Linked DNA regions of Homo sapiens: all the other regions are linked to region 4. The links are contacts of gene promoters, found by promoter capture Hi-C in human tissues and cell types (Jung and others, 2019). All regions are on one chromosome and are shown on one strand. Each heading gives the region's core, a stretch centred on a gene start or on the middle of the fragment in contact. The rest is flanking DNA. Distances are from core to core; before and after follow the strand shown. Region 1 overlaps MED1 (mediator complex subunit 1). Region 2 overlaps IKZF3 (IKAROS family zinc finger 3). Region 3 overlaps IKZF3 (IKAROS family zinc finger 3). Region 4 holds the start of STARD3 (StAR related lipid transfer domain containing 3).

Region 1 (3,134 bases), core at 449-2,948, 230 kb after region 4:
AGCTGGGATTACAGGCACGCGCCACCACGCCCAGCTAATTTTTGTATTTTTAGTAGAGACGGGGTTTCACCATGTTGGCCAGGATGGTGTCGATCTCCTGACCTCATGTTCCAGCCGCCTTGGCCTCCCAAAGTGCTGGGATTACAGGCGTGAGCCACTGTGCCCGGCCCCTAAGGAGGCATTTTCTTACTGAGTTCCATTATTACCAATTTTCTTTTAGTTAAGTTTGAAATTCAATTATTTGGACTCTTGTTTATAGTTTGCTTTTGTTGTGTGATTCATAAGAGGTTGACAATTTTATGTTGGGTTAGATTTTTAGAATGTATTTACCCAAAGCTCTGGTATTTGATAGAACTATTTTTGTCTTACAGATTATTTGCCCTACCTGAAAACTGCTTACTGCAAAACTCTGATGTTATATCTAAATCTCAGGTCTCATTCAGCAGCTATTGCAATGTTAACTTTGTTTTCTTCTTTATTTTGCAGATGTATGTCCATCCCTGTGACGATGAGGGCTATTCGGAGGAAAGCTGAAACCATTCAAGCCGACACCCCAGCACTGTCCCTCATTGCAGAGACAGTTGAAGACATGGTGAAAAAGAACCTGCCCCCGGCTAGCAGCCCAGGGTATGGCATGACCACAGGCAACAACCCAATGAGTGGTACCACTACACCAACCAACACCTTTCCGGGGGGTCCCATTACCACCTTGTTTAATATGAGCATGAGCATCAAAGATCGGCATGAGTCGGTGGGCCATGGGGAGGACTTCAGCAAGGTGTCTCAGAACCCAATTCTTACCAGTTTGTTGCAAATCACAGGGAACGGGGGGTCTACCATTGGCTCGAGTCCGACCCCTCCTCATCACACGCCGCCACCTGTCTCTTCGATGGCCGGCAACACCAAGAACCACCCGATGCTCATGAACCTTCTTAAAGATAATCCTGCCCAGGATTTCTCAACCCTTTATGGAAGCAGCCCTTTAGAAAGGCAGAACTCCTCTTCCGGCTCACCCCGCATGGAAATATGCTCGGGGAGCAACAAGACCAAGAAAAAGAAGTCATCAAGATTACCACCTGAGAAACCAAAGCACCAGACTGAAGATGACTTTCAGAGGGAGCTATTTTCAATGGATGTTGACTCACAGAACCCTATCTTTGATGTCAACATGACAGCTGACACGCTGGATACGCCACACATCACTCCAGCTCCAAGCCAGTGTAGCACTCCCCCAACAACTTACCCACAACCAGTACCTCACCCCCAACCCAGTATTCAAAGGATGGTCCGACTATCCAGTTCAGACAGCATTGGCCCAGATGTAACTGACATCCTTTCAGACATTGCAGAAGAAGCTTCTAAACTTCCCAGCACTAGTGATGATTGCCCAGCCATTGGCACCCCTCTTCGAGATTCTTCAAGCTCTGGGCATTCTCAGAGTACCCTGTTTGACTCTGATGTCTTTCAAACTAACAATAATGAAAATCCATACACTGATCCAGCTGATCTTATTGCAGATGCTGCTGGAAGCCCCAGTAGTGACTCTCCTACCAATCATTTTTTTCATGATGGAGTAGATTTCAATCCTGATTTATTGAACAGCCAGAGCCAAAGTGGTTTTGGAGAAGAATATTTTGATGAAAGCAGCCAAAGTGGGGATAATGATGATTTCAAAGGATTTGCATCTCAGGCACTAAATACTTTGGGGGTGCCAATGCTTGGAGGTGATAATGGGGAGACCAAGTTTAAGGGCAATAACCAAGCCGACACAGTTGATTTCAGTATTATTTCAGTAGCCGGCAAAGCTTTAGCTCCTGCAGATCTTATGGAGCATCACAGTGGTAGTCAGGGTCCTTTACTGACCACTGGGGACTTAGGGAAAGAAAAGACTCAAAAGAGGGTAAAGGAAGGCAATGGCACCAGTAATAGTACTCTCTCGGGGCCCGGATTAGACAGCAAACCAGGGAAGCGCAGTCGGACCCCTTCTAATGATGGGAAAAGCAAAGATAAGCCTCCAAAGCGGAAGAAGGCAGACACTGAGGGAAAGTCTCCATCTCATAGTTCTTCTAACAGACCTTTTACCCCACCTACCAGTACAGGTGGATCTAAATCGCCAGGCAGTGCAGGAAGATCTCAGACTCCCCCAGGTGTTGCCACACCACCCATTCCCAAAATCACTATTCAGATTCCTAAGGGAACAGTGATGGTGGGCAAGCCTTCCTCTCACAGTCAGTATACCAGCAGTGGTTCTGTGTCTTCCTCAGGCAGCAAAAGCCACCATAGCCATTCTTCCTCCTCTTCCTCATCTGCTTCCACCTCAGGGAAGATGAAAAGCAGTAAATCAGAAGGTTCATCAAGTTCCAAGTTAAGTAGCAGTATGTATTCTAGCCAGGGGTCTTCTGGATCTAGCCAGTCCAAAAATTCATCCCAGTCTGGGGGGAAGCCAGGCTCCTCTCCCATAACCAAGCATGGACTGAGCAGTGGCTCTAGCAGCACCAAGATGAAACCTCAAGGAAAGCCATCATCACTTATGAATCCTTCTTTAAGTAAACCAAACATATCCCCTTCTCATTCAAGGCCACCTGGAGGCTCTGACAAGCTTGCCTCTCCAATGAAGCCTGTTCCTGGAACTCCTCCATCCTCTAAAGCCAAGTCCCCTATCAGTTCAGGTTCTGGTGGTTCTCATATGTCTGGAACTAGTTCAAGCTCTGGCATGAAGTCATCTTCAGGGTTAGGATCCTCAGGCTCGTTGTCCCAGAAAACTCCCCCATCATCTAATTCCTGTACGGCATCTTCCTCCTCCTTTTCCTCAAGTGGCTCTTCCATGTCATCCTCTCAGAACCAGCATGGGAGTTCTAAAGGAAAATCTCCCAGCAGAAACAAGAAGCCGTCCTTGACAGCTGTCATAGATAAACTGAAGCATGGGGTTGTCACCAGTGGCCCTGGGGGTGAAGACCCACTGGACGGCCAGATGGGGGTGAGCACAAATTCTTCCAGCCATCCTATGTCCTCCAAACATAACATGTCAGGAGGAGAGTTTCAGGGCAAGCGTGAGAAAAGTGATAAAGACAAATCAAAGGTTTCCACCTCCGGGAGTTCAGTGGATTCTTCTAAGAAGACCTCAGAGTCAAAAA
Region 2 (3,107 bases), core at 588-3,087, 140 kb before region 4:
AATGGGAAAGTCTCCACCCATGCCTCAAAATATGTCCATCCATGAACACTGCAGAATTTTATGTTTTTAAATGTCAGGCATTTGGTCACTGATTTACAGAATAATGTTTATCTGGAAATGACTCTAAAGACCAGTTTGGTGGGTAACGAGGAATAAAAGGTGATGTTATCTCAAAAGTTTGCCATTTAGTGACCTGCCCTAATTACAGTTATTTAGGTCAATGTGTCCACACTTCAGCATCCTCCCAAATGTAGAGGATGTTGATTACGTGTCCTCAGAAAGCTGCTTGTTTTAATTGACATTGACTTCAGTAAAATGTAGACAGCGACTGCTGAGAAACAAATGGGAAAACTAGATGGGTAGCACCGTGCTTGGGGTAATTCCTGGGTAATGATTTGGCAGTGAGAGGAGGGACCACAATAGACTAATAAGAACAATGGTAAAATGGGCATAAAAGGTAAACATTCCCAGAATACTGTTTTTCATTCTTTTTTTCCCTATAAATCTTTTTGTTGATAACTACAGGGTTGAGGGGAGGCTTACTTGGATTTAATCTTCTCAAAATTGCTGGAACCAGGATGAATGTTCCTAGTCAAAGTGCAAACTTAGCTACCTCTCCCCTGATTCTAAGAAAAAAGTCTCCTAACAGCCCCAGGAACTTACTGCAAATTCCAAGCTTTGTCTTTCATCTCTCTGCTCTTGGGGCTTTGGGTAGTGCCACATCTGGTGGTGGTTTTGTGTGAAAGGAAATAATATATATAAATAATTTCCTGTTTGGTCATTTAAACCTATCCCTGTGCTGGACAGAATTTGACCCTCTTCACTCAATAGCAGTGTCTTGTGGCTGAAGTGCCCGTTATTTACAACTGCTGGTCAGCCAGAGTCAGTCGAGTACTTTTGCACTAGCCCAAAAGCCACTCAGGCCCCCTATTCTGACCCTTACTGTTTTCATTTACACAAATAGTTGTTAATAGCTTCACTGAAGGCTATGATTTATTCCTTTAGAGCCTAGAATTATTTTTGACAAGAAACTCACTGTCTAGTAAATATTGTCATTATTATCACATTATTATCATCCTCTTCTTTTTCATTTTTGGAGCTGGATTTCTTTTTCTTTTTAAGAGATGGGATCTCACTGTGTTGCCCAAGCTGAACTTGAACTCCTAGGCTCAAGCCATCCTCTCACCTCAGCCTCCTGAGTAGCTGGGACTATGGGCTAGTGCCACCACACCTGGCAGAGCCAGATTTTATGTTATTCCAGGAAAAAAAAAAAAGCTGAGCTTTGGCTGAGTGCAGTGGCTCATGCCTGTAATCCCAACACTTTGGGAGGCTGAAGTGGGAGGACTGCCTGAGGCCAAGAGTTGGAGACCAGACTGAGCAATATATTGAGACTAATAATTTTTTTTTTTAATTAGCCAGGCATGGTGGCTTTAGACTGTAGTCCCAGCAACTTTGGAACCTGAGGTAGAAGGATTACTTGAGCCCAGGAGGTTGAGCCTGCAGTGAGCTGTGATCATGCCACTGCACTCCACCCTGGGTAACAGAGTTGAGACCCTGTTTCAAAAATAAGTAAATAAATTAACTAAATAATGAAAACTGAGCTTTATAATGTATTGTGTAATGACTAACATACAGTTTTTTAAGGCCACTAATAAAATTAGAAATATTTAATACTTTGGGGCTTTTTTTTTTTTTTTTAGACAGAGTCTCACTCTGTCACGCAGGCTGGAGTGCACTGGCACTAATAGGTTGGTGCAAAAGTAATTGTGGTCTTTGCAGTTACCTTAATAGTTCACCGTAACCTCAAACCCCTGGGCTCAAGGAACCCTCCCACCTCAGTCTCCCAAGTAGCTAGGACTACAGGCGCATGCCAACATGCCCAGCTAATTTTTTAAAATTACTTTTTGTAGGAACAGGATCTTGCTATATTGCCCAGGTTGGTCTCAACTCCTGGCCTCAAGCAATCTTCCTGCCTCAGTCTCCCAAAGCACTGGGATTACAGGGGTGAGCCACTGTGCCAGCCACTACTTGCTTTTTACTCTAATCCCTTAAACTAATTTCAATTTATTCTTCCTTAGACATAATAGAAATGTATGGATAGTTCATTTTAGTTTGGATCTCCCGAAGTGTTTATGAGAAAACAGAGAAAAATGTTTACAGCATCACAATATGTTTGCCCAGGGCAGGTGAGGGCAAACTGTGGCGCTCTAGGCAAGTGCAGCCAGTGGCCTGTTTGTGTACAGGGATTTTTACGTTTTTAAAAGGCCGTGGAACAGAAAAAAAAAAAACAAAAAACAAAGAATATAACATAGAGACTATATGTGTCTGGCAAATTTTTAAAATTTACTGTCTGGCCCTTTACAGACAAAAGTTTGCTGATCCCTGGTTCAGGCTAGCATCATGTGTTAAAATGTCAAGCCTTGTATTTAGAGAAGCTGGTATCTCTTTGAAATTTATTTAATTAATTTATTTATTTTTTGGAGATGGAGTTTTGCTCTTATTGCCCAGGCTGGAGTGCAATGGCTCAATCTCGGCTCACCACAACCTCTGCCTCCTGGGTTCAAGCGATTCTCCGGCCTCAGCCTCCCGAGAGCTAAGATTACAGGCATTCGCCACCACACCCAGCTAATTATTTATATTTTTAGTAGAGATGGGGTTTCTCCATGTTGGTCAGGCTGGTCTTGAACTCCCGACCTCAGGTGATCTGCCCGCCTCGGCCTTGCAAAGTGCTGGGATTATAGACGTGAGCCACCGTGCCTGGCCTTCTTTGAACTTTAGACATAAATTTGGGCACTGCCTGCTGAATTGAGGTAAATTATATTCATTACAGTTTACTATTTTAGTTGATTAGATATTGCCACTATTTATATACTCTTCTAGTAGTTCTCAATTCTGGCTGCATTTTAAAATCATCTGGGGAGCTTTGAAAATATTCTTGCCTAGGCCCCTATACCAGAAATCCTGATTTAATTGATCTGAAGGGGGGCCTGGGCATAGGTATTTCTTACCTGCTATTCAGGTGAGTCTAATGTGCAGCCAGGTCTGAGAACCACAGGCCTACACCACTCACAGGTCTATTTGTGGATGGGCCCACATTCATAGGCAGG
Region 3 (2,862 bases), core at 200-2,699, 170 kb before region 4:
CAAGTGCTCACTAAATAATTATTGGTTCATTAACTAAAGTGAAGAACAGCATGTGAGTACATTTTGGCATTGGGGTCTTTTATTTTAGTAGTGTTCTTGAAATGCTGGGAAAACTTTCCAAGGATTGCATGGGATAATTTTAAGAGAATCAATTTCCAGGTCCGCAACTTCAGTATATTCTCTGCCCTTCTTCCTAAAACTGATCTGCCTAGAAGACTGCTGCCATTGAGCTTGCTTGCTTTTTCTTTTCTTTCTTCCTTTCTTTCTTTCTTCCTTCCTTCCTTTCCTTCCTTCCTTTTCTTCCTTCCTTTCTTCCTTCCGTCCTTTCTTCCTTCCTTCCTTCCTTCTTTCTTTCCCTTTCTGTCTTTCTTTCCCTTTCTTTCTTTCTTTCTTTCTTTCCTTCTCTCTTTCTCTTTCTCTTTTTTTATTTCCTCCCTTTCTCCCTCTTTTTCTTTCTCTCCCTCTCTTTCTTTCTTTCTTTCAGACAGGGTCTTGCTCTGCTGTCCAGGCTGGAGTGCAGTGGTGTAATCACAGTTCACTGTAGCCTTGACCTCGTGGGCTCAAGCAATACTTCCACCTCAACCTCCTGAGTAACTAGGTCTACAGGCACCCACCACCATGCCCTGCTAATTTTTTAACTTTTTGTAGAGGGGTCTCACTGTGTTGCCCAGGCTGGTCTTGAACTCCTAGACTCAAGTGATCTTCTCGCCTTGGTCTCCCAAATTGCTGAGATTACAGGCATAAGCCACCATGCCCAGCCTTCCTTCTCCACTTTATAAAAGAAAAGAACATTTCTCACCCACCTCTAAGGTGTAAGTACTTCCAAGATGCCAAACAAAGGATCAATTAGATAATTTCTTTTATCAAATTTTCATAACTTATTTCCTCTCTATCCTTCTCATTAGGAGATACAGTCCCAATAAATTTTACTTTTTGTATTTGGTAATTATTGATCAAATTATAATATACCTATATTGTTTTACTCAATTGTATGTTAATAATTGTAATGCTAATTCAATCCAGAAGAAAACACATTTTGACACATAGCACTTCATGTTAACAAAAGTAACTATATTTTATTGGGTTTTTTTTTTTTTTTTTGCTGCAGATACATATAATGGGATGAACAATAGATGACTCAAGCATACAAGAGTACTACATTAGGAGAAAATTCCATGGGGGTAGTGAAATGGAAATAGAAGTTCAAAGAGAAATTTCCTGACTTTCTTGAAAAGCTTACTTATGTATTTTTAAATTCATGATGGAGTAAATTAAATCACAAATATGTATATATTCCTAAGTAGATACATTTGAAAGGGTGTGGTAATGGTTTAAACTATCATTATTTACAATACACAAACTGTATTCTTTTGTTTAAAAATAGTTAAACTCATGATGAAAAATTATAGATGTCAACTTAGTATGTACTTAATGTCCACTATGTATAAGAGAGATATATAATTTTTCAAAATTCTTTTGAGGATGCTTGAGCAAAAAATTTGAAAAATGCCAACCACTATTATATGAAGTTTACAAAATATAACACAGAGGTGTCTTTAAGCCTGAGCCTATTTAAAGGCCTGAGGCAGAGATTCTCAACCTGAGATCTCAGGGTTTGAGAAATCAATCAATAGTATGTGAAATTTCGTGTTTATGGGCATGTGTACCTTTTTCTGGGCAAAGAGTACAGTTCTCAAAGATGTTCACAACCTAAAAAAGATTAAAAAGATCTGACCAAAGCATGTAAAGTCTTAAGAAACTTGACTTTGCTGTTTTCATAATAGTTTCATATGCACTGGCATGTGGAATTGCTTCCAACATAAACAATTTTGGTTCAGTTGTTTGTATATAAAATAATACTAATTATGAAAAATAATGAAAGATTCAATCTCCCTTTCTTCATCATCATCCTGAAATCTATGTCAATCTTTTAATTTTATTCCTTGCTTATTCAGAGGCCTTTTCTTTTCTTAATTTTGATGGAGAAAATTACAGGTGCTTCATCCATAGAAAAATGCTGAATGGAAATGTGGAAAACAGTTTTTAAAAGAATAGACATCATCTGCCCCTGACAGTTGTGTCTTGCGGTTTCTTCCAGGATCTAATCAGCAGTCTAGCAATAGGTTGACATAGTATTCAGGCTTAGAATTAGGAAAATTACATTTGGAAGTGACTAATAACACAGTACTTTCAAAGCTTTGGATTTTAAAGCGTCACACACACAGCAGGTGAATGAAGATGTCAGAGCCAGGCCTAAAGGAGCACCCTGGTAATCCAGCCCTTGGTGTATAACCTTCAAACACCAATAAACAAGATTATCTGGGTTTAACATGTGACCTTTCTCATTTTGACTGGTAGGTCCAGATGTTTTCTCGTTTAGCTGCCTGGTTGAAATCTGCTTTAACTGACTGCATTTGGATCTAGATTTGAGGTTGCAGGAATGACAGTCTTGAAAACTACATTCTGCACTGGGTGATACTGTCTAAACAGTAACATATGGAGACCTATGGTTTAATAACTAAAAATAATTTGTGACCTTACCCTTAATAGATTTGCTAATTATGTCAACTGAATAAGTAAAAATGGGATCACGATAGATATTTCACTATATTCATCAGTCTGGTGGCATTAAAGACATTGACAAGATGTGTTAGAACCAGCCTTTTCTGCACCTGCGTCTACAGAAGCAAAAATCTCAGCCAGGGCCTTTGTTATCCTTTCTTACTCCTTAAGTAATTTCATAGCAGCCCTTGAGAAAATAGGAAAGGCTCTTTGTTAACTTCTGTTAAGTCAGCCTAGGCTGTGGTCATACCTCCCATCCACCGACATTTGAACAAACACTACTTAATGGTCCATTATTAC
Region 4 (2,888 bases), core at 367-2,866:
ATTCCTACCTCCATTTTACAAGTGAGGAAATTGAGGCACTGACTTCATCAAGGTTACCAAACAGGTCAGAACCCAGGCAGTCTGATCCAGGAGTCTGTATTCTCAGCTACTATGCTATTATGGACAGGGTGCTACAGGACACAGAAGGGCAATTAACCTTGGGGGTTAGGCGGAGGCAGCGCTGCCTGCGCTGAAAAACATGTAGAAGGTAGCCCAGCAGACAAGAGAAGGAGGAGGTTTCCAAGCAGCGGGGGCTGGTGTGTGCAAAGTCATGAAGATACGAACAGCAAGGGTAGGCATGGCGCATGCTGCAGTGCCGTATTATTGGACCTTAGGGTGCACACAGGAGACTGCTAGGTCAGATCACAGAGAGCTGTGTAAATTGTGCTAGGGGTTCAGCACATAGGCAATAGAAAGCCAGAAAAAGGTTATCAGCAAGGAACTGGCACCGTAAGACTTGTGTTCTAAAAGGATCACAAGAGTTACAGTTTGGAGACTGGGTTGCAAGCTGCCAGGGCTGGACTGTTGGGAATTGACAATACATCAACAGCGTGGTAACAGAAGAGATGGAGCTGGCCCAGGTTTGAAGGATGTTCAGGAAGTTGGCAGTACTAGGTCACTTTTAAGATGTGGGACTTGAAAGAGAGGAGAAAGTGTAAGGAAATTACCAGACTTCCGGCTGGGTTGGGGTAGAGGAAGAATTAATCTGCAAGGAAAAGACCAGTTCAAGTTTGGACCCAGTGAGCTCCATGTGAAGCAGAGCTGTCCCAATGGCCGCTGGATGGGCAAGCGTGGAGCTCCAGGGAAGGGCTGCGCTGAAGATGTGGATCTGGGTATTTAGTTGGTGTAAAGCTGAAGCCGTGGGGGAAAATAAGACCACTGAGATTCAGTGTACAGAGCGAGGGGTTGGGCGACAGAGGAAAACGTGAAGCGGGACTTTGACCGACTGTCAGAGCGGTACGAAGAAAACCAGGAGACATTGACTAACCCAAAAATGCGGGGTGAGGGAACGTGTCATTAGAAATGAGTGTCAATGGTACTATGCACCTCTAAGAACTCAAGACTTCAAAGGGCCCTTTTAATACCAATTAGGAAGTTATTCACGGCCGTTTCGAAAGGAAGTTGGGGAGACACGGGATGACACTGAGACGCAGAGCTACCGGAATGCGTAGATGTTTTCCTCTCACCCCAGATTCCGACCCCTCCCCATACCTGCCCCTGCTCATAACACCCAGACACCTCACCCTCTCCTCTCCCCTCAGTTAAGACGGAGGCTTTGGAAGGAGATCCCGAACGTCCTCCCCGGGCTCCCCAGGATAGGCGGGGTCGCCAAGAGTCATTGCTGGAGACCCCAACCCGCGCGGGGCGGCGCGAGGCCAGACAGAGGAAGGGGGCGGAACCTGAGACGCAGCGGGTGTGGGAAGGGTCGGACGGAACCCAGCACGGACAGCGGGCGGCGAAGCGGGTTCGACCGGCGGAAGACGGCCCTCGCACGCCACCCGCTCCCAGCGACCGCTCCGGGACCCACCTGCTCCATGTCAGCCACGGCCCCGGCTCTTCCCGCCCCAACCGCAGTCCGGCTCCGCGGCCTCAGTAGCGCCTCAGAGCGGAAGAAGATCTTCCGGCAGCGCCACTTCCGCCGCTGAGTCCGCCCCCGAGAGCGAAGCGGGACTTGCGTTCGCCTGCGGCCCCGCCCCTTCGCCCCGCCTCCAGCCCCGGCCCTGCGCAGAAGCGGACTCAAAGGCCGGAGTCTAAGGGCCTACCTAAGGGTAGGGGAGTGGGAAGAAGACCAGGGCCGTCGTTATTAGGCCACACAGGCCTGGCACTGAGGGAAAAAGGGGAATTTCCCGAGGGGAGTCCTGTGGGGATGGGGAAATCTTTGGAGGAATCCAGTTATTCGAGAAGGACTTCCCCACCCCACCTGCCTCCTTCAGCCATCCCAAGCAGCAGCTAGAACTTCTGTAGTTCTTCCTCTGAGTGCCCCGAGCCTGCTGTCTGCCAGAAAGACTCCTAGACTAGAGGATTGGACAGTAGGGTCAAAACCCTAACCCTTGGTTGACCACCGGCCTTCCCTATCAGGACGCCCCATTACCTCCCTTTTCCTCCTGCTTCCCCTGAAAGAGGAGTCTCAGCAGTTATTTACAAAGATTTATTACAGCACGGGAGGGGTTCAGGCCTGGAGTCAGGGAAGAAGGGGAAAGGGGCAGAGCAGCTGGGGGACAAGGAAAACCTGGCGCCCCCCGCTGTGTGCCCCACCGGGGACATAAACTAGGCGGCATTCCTGGCATCAAAGCACAAAACGCAACAAAGAGGTCTCTGCCAGTCCATCTTCCAGGCACCCAGGAGGAGCAAGGGTGATTAAGGGAAGATTCCCAAAATGTTGAGGCTATGGAGAAAAACGCCTTAGTCCTGGACCCTGGTAGAAGCCGGTGAGAGAAGTGGTGACTTGGAATCCTCCATAGGAAAGTGGGTAGAAAAGGATCTAAGGGTACCTCAAGGTTCTCAGGACCTCCTTTCCCCAGATCTTAGGGTCCTGCCCTGTGGGTCTCCTGTGTCCAGGGGAGAGGATCTGGGGAGTAGAATTGTGAAGGGCAAATCCCTGTTCCCGGTTTTCTGGATTTTCCAATGTGGGCTGTCTCACATCCCACCTCCCGCTGGGTGAATGGAGGAATGACTGGCAGGGGTGGGCATCAGGCAGCAAGTGCCCAGGTTCTCTGGGTATCAGCCAAAGGTGGGCAAACAAGCAAACACAGACCAGCCTTAGTCTTCTAGAAGTCAGAAGCCGCAGCCCTAGCAGGCGAGGGGAAGAGCACAAAACAGGGTGAGGATAGAGTGGGTTTCTGGGGAACAGCGATGTCCCCTCCACTTCCTCCTGGGAGATGCAGGCT

Evidence for each region. The method cuts DNA at HindIII sites, captures the fragments that hold promoters and counts their contacts. A contact is called where the count stands out against the background at its distance.
Region 1: a fragment that was not itself captured here is called in contact with the fragment with the promoter of STARD3 in region 4 in 1 of the 25 tissues and cell types used here (dorsolateral prefrontal cortex).
Region 2: a contact is called between a fragment that was not itself captured here and the fragment with the promoter of STARD3 in region 4, in 5 of the 25 tissues and cell types used here (H1 embryonic stem cells, liver, lymphoblastoid cells and 2 more).
Region 3: a contact is called between a fragment that was not itself captured here and the fragment with the promoter of STARD3 in region 4, in 1 of the 25 tissues and cell types used here (mesendoderm cells).

What each region holds. Positions count from the first base shown.
Region 1 is chr17:39,408,074-39,411,207 of GRCh38, reverse strand. It overlaps MED1 (mediator complex subunit 1), which reads left to right. Exons shown (of 17, transcript NM_004774.4): 17 at 487-3,134. Among named protein-coding and RNA genes, the nearest start is that of FBXL20, 8.0 kb to the right of the region's middle. The HindIII fragment of the contact is 5,074 bases long and covers 1-3,134 here.
Region 2 is chr17:39,778,835-39,781,941 of GRCh38, reverse strand. The region is part of intron 6 of IKZF3 (IKAROS family zinc finger 3); the gene reads left to right. Among named protein-coding and RNA genes, the nearest start is that of GRB7, 42 kb to the right of the region's middle. The HindIII fragment of the contact is 7,861 bases long and covers 1-3,107 here.
Region 3 is chr17:39,808,856-39,811,717 of GRCh38, reverse strand. The region is part of intron 3 of IKZF3 (IKAROS family zinc finger 3); the gene reads left to right. Among named protein-coding and RNA genes, the nearest start is that of IKZF3, 54 kb to the left of the region's middle. The HindIII fragment of the contact is 4,134 bases long and covers 1-2,862 here.
Region 4 is chr17:39,635,872-39,638,759 of GRCh38, reverse strand. It overlaps STARD3 (StAR related lipid transfer domain containing 3), which reads right to left and starts at 1,616. Exons shown (of 15, transcript NM_006804.4): 1 at 1,529-1,616. PPP1R1B (protein phosphatase 1 regulatory inhibitor subunit 1B) reads right to left here. Exons shown (of 7, transcript NM_032192.4): 7 at 2,136-2,888. LOC124903998 (a long non-coding RNA gene) reads left to right here and starts at 1,470. Exons shown (of 2, transcript XR_007065749.1): 1 at 1,470-1,769. RefSeq lists enhancers at 945-1,064, 2,848-2,888 and a silencer at 1,605-1,674. The HindIII fragment of the contact is 10,179 bases long and covers 1-2,888 here.